2 separate regions of the Homo sapiens genome follow, and region 2 is linked to region 1. Evidence: promoter capture Hi-C in human tissues and cell types (Jung and others, 2019). All regions are on one chromosome and are shown on one strand. The core of a region is centred on a gene start or on the middle of the fragment in contact, and the rest is flanking DNA. Distances in the headings are between cores, read along the strand shown.

Region 1 (3,399 bases), core at 778-3,277:
TTTAAACTTTTATTTTTGGTTCAGGGGTGCATGCGAAGGTTTGTTACATATGTAAATTCATGTCACGGGGGTTTGTTGTACAAAAGCCTTTTATAAATTAAATGATAATATGAATTATATTTTATAGGTAAAATTAGACATTGATTGCGCATGTAATACCTAACTCAGTTATTTTACATATGGAGTAAAGAGAGTAGGTATCACTTTATGGATGAAGAAATTGAATGCTAGAGATGGCCAAAATCATAAAGCTTATTTAATATAATGTTACCAACTGTGAATAAGTTATAAATTTATAAACACCTTTAGGATAAAAAGTGCTTTAACATACATGTCAGTTGATTTGAATATTACACAAATCTAAGATAAATATGGAATGTTTCATGCCTGTATTTGATAGAAAAAGAAACTAAACTAAACTACACAGAGGTTGCAAATTGACCCTTCAAATCTAGAGAGCGGTAAAAGTTTGAGTAAAATTCAAGTCTGACTCCACATCTATTTCACTATTTCAAGCTGTCCCAAGTTGTGAGCGACTTTACCATAATATAGTTAATAAAATAAAGGGAAAAAAGTTTTTAAGTTTTGGAAGACTTGATTTAAAATACAATATGAACATAACATGAAATCAACATAAATAGAACATGAAAAGAATCAGAGTAAATTGCTTGCCTATGCCTTATATGCTTGTATGAAATTCTTGGTATCTTAAAATTGTATAAAAACAAAACTACACACTTATGTGGTAAAAACATACCCCAGCTGTGTCGAGACCTCCGACCACGAATCCACCCCATCAAATACTTATAAGTGCACGTCTACCGCAGAGAGGAATCTAAAGTCTTCAATGCACAAAGGATTCCTGAATAAAATAAAACTGGGCATTTGTTTTTTGTTCTCTTTCCCGTGGTGAGATAAAATATTTTGAATAGAAAAGTAAAATGCAGAAACTTTTCCCCTGTGCATGCCTTTAAGAAAAGAATAGAAATGACAATTCACATAAAGCCAGGCAAAATTAATTTTATACATTTCTCTTGGTTGTAAAATAATCGCCAATTACTTCAAAATGTCATAACAATATAATGAACCTATTAATTCACCTACATTGAGATATTTAATACCAATATTTTACTTTACTGATATTAGATAACAACACACCCAGTTTTCTGTTTATAGTCGTTTATTGCTTCTTGGCCTTTTAGCTAAGATCAAGTGTTTCCAGTTGTTTATTTTATCTGGCAATAATTTAGTTTTCTTTCTGCAAGCTAAACTCAGGTAAGTTATATGCACTTTTGTTGAATGTCCTTTTCTAGTGCATTTTAATCCAACGTGCCCATATCATCATCATCAACAAATTATCATCACCATCATCATTAACAAAACTAATCTCACATGTTTATATAGTAACATCTTAGCAATGCACAGCAGAGCTTCCAGAAAAAACCATTTAATAAATAAGCATAGTGCTTAGATTTCAAAAATAAAAGCTATTTCATATTTGATTATGATAGTTGGAAAGCACAGATATAACTTGTTTCACCTTGCATGTAAAGATGTGTATCAAAGGTAAGTGCCCCCTACAGCATCAGAAAACTCAAAAATTTGACAATTTAAATTGAATCTCAATTCTTCTCATCCTAAATGTAAAGATTCATTTTTCTAGTTTTGCTTAGAGACAAGGCTTCTTCTTATAGTAATATTACAACTTCTGATTCTTCAATAAGTATATCCTAATTACCTATCATCAGATACAGTGATAGAATATACATCAGAAATGATAAGCATTCCGTATCCTCAGGAGTTCTATTCAAGCATCTAAGAAACAATTAGAATTACCTTATAGTGTAAATATTTTTATTTTTTTGAGGTTGAAATATAATTTCTCATATCTTGAATAATAAACACACACACATACACACATACACACACCTGCTCAGAGAGGGAAGATCTTGATTCTTGTGGATAAAAGCCTTCTATAAAACTAGAAAATTTAGATATGTCCTCAGTTCCTGATCTAGAATTGAAAGTGGAGATACTTAGTGAATTTCTATCTTTGAGAAAGATGTGACAAATATTATAATCTCATCTTCCTGTGGAAAAACATAAACCACAGTACTTCCGCCTTATCACTACAAAAATATTGTTAATTTGGTAAAAGAGTTAAGACCACCCATTGTTGGATAAATGTTAGGTTGGTGCAAAAGTAATTGTAGTTTTGCCATTATTTTAAATAACATTTTAGGATTTGAAAATGATGAATTTAAATGATGCCATTTAATCCTAAATATTTTAGAGATTCAATTCAATTCCAGTTAATACCTCAGGTTTTGTTGTAGAACTTACAAAGCAGAATTCTACATGTACATTAAATTACAAAAGTCAAGACTAGGAAAGTCACAATTGAAGATGAAGAAAATGTGGGAGCCTTGTTTTACTAGATAGTAAGACCTATGTTAAAACCGTATTAATAAAGGCAAAGTGGCATGTGGGGCATAGATAGACAAATTGAGAAGGGTAAAAATACAGACAAGAAAAAGTCATGTGCATAGATTAAAAAATATAAGGTAACATTGCAGATAAAGTGGGAAATTAGCTCCTATTCAATAATTTGTCCTGGGTTACTATCACACTGGCCTTTAAGTTACAAAAAATTAGTCCTGGGAATTTTTAAATTTTAATATAAAAAACATGAAATTGCATCTCTGTCATATCTACATCATATGCAGGAGAATTAGAAACTTAAATATATACCCCAGTATACATAAGAATAATATATGAATTGATACCAATGAACAAGATAAGCTAAATATATATTTTATGTTTATTAATTTAAAATACTAACATAAGACATCATATAAAGTAATATAAGATGAACACATTATAACATTTTAACAAAAACCAAAGCTATTAATCTTAAAACTCTGAAATATAAGGAAGGAAAACAGCTTTCATGTGGTGATGTGTTAAAGTTGGACAATAAATTTATTCAACATTTTTTTTCTTTAGCGAATGCTATTTGCTATGCACTTTTCTAGATCTTGAGAATGTCAAAGTAAACAATCCAAAAGAAAGTTTTTGCCCACATGGAAATTAATTACTTTTTTTTTTTTTTTTTTTAAGAGATGGAGTTTCACTCTTGTTGTCCAGGCTGGAGTGCAACGGGGCGATCTCGGCTCACTGCAACCTCCGCCACCTGGGTTCAAGCAATTCTCCTGTCTCAGCCTCCAGAATAACTGGGATTACAGGCATGTGCCACCACACCTGGCTAATTTTTGTATTTCTAGTAGAGACGAGGTTTCACCATGTTAGTCAGGCTGGTCTCGAACTCCTGACCTCAGGTGATCCTCCTGCCTCAGCCTCCCAATGTGCTGAGATTACAGACGTGAGCCACCACACCCA
Region 2 (3,379 bases), core at 637-3,136, 140 kb after region 1:
TAGTGCTTAAAAATCCTTCTTAGAAATGTGCAGTAATAACAACTGAAATTCATCTCTATTTCAGCTACACCATTTGAATTCTTTACAAAGGCACTTCTTCATGGTTTGAGAATGCATCTCTCATTACCCTAAAGCAAAACTATCTTATCCCCTTCTAAATAGTGGTAACAAAACTAGATTCTCTAGTTGCTTCTCTTGTAGGTTTGCCTTCGGCTTATTCTGTTTCTCTACTAGGAATCAACTGATTGCTTTCAGGGAGTAGGTTTCTAACTAAATAAAGTTATGACAGACAATGCATCCTGGAAATTCTCCAGACAATTGAACTTTCTTTTAAAGGTAAACAGTTTTTAAGCACGCCCATGAACTATGATATTCCAGGTTCGCAGCCATTAGTTACTCTGCTTGGCTGCTGTACATCTCTATGTATGTTTTTACCTCAAATTCCCCAGTTCCAAATGTATCATTTAACCAGAATGCATTTAATAGCATTTGTATATGTTATGAACCATAACAAGTGTCAAATGGATTCTAAAAATTAGTCCATAACATATTTATAGGAATGTGTTGCTTCCACTCTTTTTAAGAGTTGTATAGGCTTACATTTATCATCATTTAATATTAATAGAGCAACTGATATACACCTGTCCCTAAAAGTATGGGGCAAACCACCAAAGACAGGTAATTATTAACAATTTTAGTTTTTGGCATTTTAATACTAAACTTCAAGGTTTATTAAATAAAATAAATATAAGAGGTTCTTGAAAATCTAGCAAACTATATAGGCTTAGATATTTTATCAACAATATCTATAAAATATTATTGTCAGAGTATAGGTATATCATATCTATTTTCTTTTAAGGATTTTAACTTTGTAACTATTTTGAATAAAGGATGAGGTTATTATTAATTGGTTGATTATAAAGACCATTTTCCCAAAGCTTTCCTCTCTCCTTAAAACACCCACACACTTTTGTACCCAAAAATATCAATGTATTTTTAATGTTTCTTCAATTGTTTCCTATACTTCTTTTCTACCTCAACTTGTGTTTATCTTTTAATGTCCACTGAAATTATATTTATGTTCACCAAGTCTAGCCAGTATTAAATTTTTTAAAAACTGAAATGACATTTAATAAAAGAATAAAGTTAATAGAAATCAAGATACAACCCCAAGATGAAATAAGTGAATAAGCACATAAAATAAGAGAGAGAGATAGAGGCTCATGATAACATGAATAGAACACAGCAGAATGATATCAGGATATAGCTGAATTAATGTGAACTTTATAATATAGCAGGCAGCATGCATAAAATTTTGAAATGATTTTTCAAAAACAAAAACAAAAATCCAAGAGGTAATAGGTTTTTATTTTTTATTTTTAATATTGTGTATTTCCTATATACTGTTATTTTCACCTATCTTTAAAATTTTTAAATTGGTAAAAGTTAGGTGACTGTAGCTTAGCTTCTAAGGCAAAGGGAGAATCTTTAGTTCAGTAAACCTGTCACCAAAAACAAAACATTATATAATAAAAATAGGGATTGTTTTTCTCATATTTTGCATTTTTACATATCTTTAATTGTATTTCCTGTTTTAAACTGACAGTTATGAAATAATGGTCAGTTATGGTTTATATGAAATAATGGATGAGTTTGAATATATGAAATAATGGTTGAGTTATGTTTTATACAGAAAATACCAAAATGACTCTCTTATGTTTTCTAGTGACCAATTTTTAATGTCATTTTGATGGAAGCAATAATGCAAAAAAAACTTTAAAAAATTTTTGGTTTTCCAGAAGTATAGATACTGAGTCTATCATTACTTGAGGTGTTTAATAAAAAATAAGATGGTCATAATTTGGAGATGAAGGAGATGTAATGACCAAATACAATGTGGAGGCCTGGATATGATTCTAGAACAGAAGACAGACATTCATGGGAAAAATGGGTGAAAGCTGAATGACGTTTTCAGCACAGTTAACAGTAACATACCAGTATAGGATGCCTAGTTTTGACAAATGTAAGATGTATCATCTTATGGTAATGTAAGACAATAACATTAGGGGAAAGTGAAACTCACTCAAGGATCTATGGGAACCTTCTACACTATCTCTGCAAGTTTTTTAGAAACCTAAAGTTATCCCTGCAGGATTTAAAAAATACCATGAAAAGGGTAAATCTAAGAGTTATTGGCCTTACAGAGGAAGTAGAGAAACAGAAAGGAGTAGAATGTTTATTCAGAGGGATAATAACAGAACTTCCCAAACCTAGAGAAAGATATCAATATCCAAGTCCACAAAAGTTATAGAAGACCAAGCAGATTTAACCTAAGGAAGACTACGTCAAGCCATCTAATAATCAAACTCTCAAATTTCAAGGATAAAGAAAGGATCTTAAAAGCAGCAAGAGAAAAGAAACAACATACAATGGAGCTCCAATACATCTTCCAGCAGACTTTTCAGTGGAAACATTGCAGACCAGGAGACAGTGGCATGGCATATTTGAAGTGTTGAAGGGGAAAAAAAATAGGCATAAACAGTATAGCTGGTGAAAATATTCTTCAAACATGAAGGAGGAATAAAGACTTTCCAAGACAAAGAAAAGCTGAGTGATTTCATCAATACCAGACATGTCCTATAAGAAATGCTAAAGGGAGTACTTCAATCAGAAAGAAAAGGATGTTAATAAGCAATAAAGCATCTTCTGAAGGTACAAAACTCACTGGTAATAGTAAGTACACAGAACAACACACATATTATAACACTGTTACTGTGGTTTGTAAATTACTCATCTTAAGTAGAAAGAATAAAAGATGAACCAATCAAAATAATAATTACAACAACTTTTCAAGATGTAGTACAATAACACATAAAGAGAAACAACAAAGGTTAAAAAGCATGGAAATGAAGTTAAAACAGAGTTTTTATGAGTTTCCTTTTTCTTGTTAATTCATTTGTATTTGCAAGCAGTATTAAGTTGTAATCAGGTTAAAATAATGTGTTATAAGATAGTATTTGCAATTTTCATGGTAACCTCAACTCAAAAACATGCAACAGATACACACACACACACACACACAAAGCAGGCCAGGTGTTGTGGCTCACACCTGTAATCCCAGCACTTTGGGAGGTCAAGGTGGGCAGATCACCTGAGGTCAGGAGTTTGAGACCAGCCTGGCCAACATGACAAACCCCATCTCTACTGAAAATACAAAAATTAGCCAAGCATGGTGGTGCATACCTGAAATTCCAGCTACTTGGGAGGCTGAGACAGAAGAATTGCTTGAACCTGGTAGGCAGAGGTTGCAGTGAGCTGAGTTCATGCCACTCCACTCCAGCCTGGGTGACAGAGTGAGACTCCAGCTCAAAAAATAAAA

The links. Contacts are between HindIII fragments. The study calls those that stand out against the background at their distance.
Region 2: a contact is called between a fragment that was not itself captured here and the fragment with the promoter of KLRK1 in region 1, in 1 of the 25 tissues and cell types used here (stomach).

Annotation. Positions count from the first base shown.
Region 1 is chr12:10,388,014-10,391,412 of GRCh38, forward strand. KLRK1 (killer cell lectin like receptor K1) reads right to left here and starts at 2,028. Exons shown (of 8, transcript NM_007360.4): 1 at 1,930-2,028; 2 at 758-862. The coding sequence starts at 797. It overlaps KLRC4-KLRK1 (KLRC4-KLRK1 readthrough), which reads right to left. Exons shown (of 13, transcript NM_001199805.1): 7 at 758-862. The coding sequence starts at 797. All of the region lies in intron 3 of KLRK1-AS1 (KLRK1 antisense RNA 1), which reads left to right. The HindIII fragment of the contact is 5,458 bases long and covers 1-3,399 here.
Region 2 is chr12:10,529,478-10,532,856 of GRCh38, forward strand. All of the region lies in intron 1 of LOC105369657 (a long non-coding RNA gene), which reads right to left. Among named protein-coding and RNA genes, the nearest start is that of LINC02446, 22 kb to the right of the region's middle. The HindIII fragment of the contact is 6,729 bases long and covers 1-3,379 here.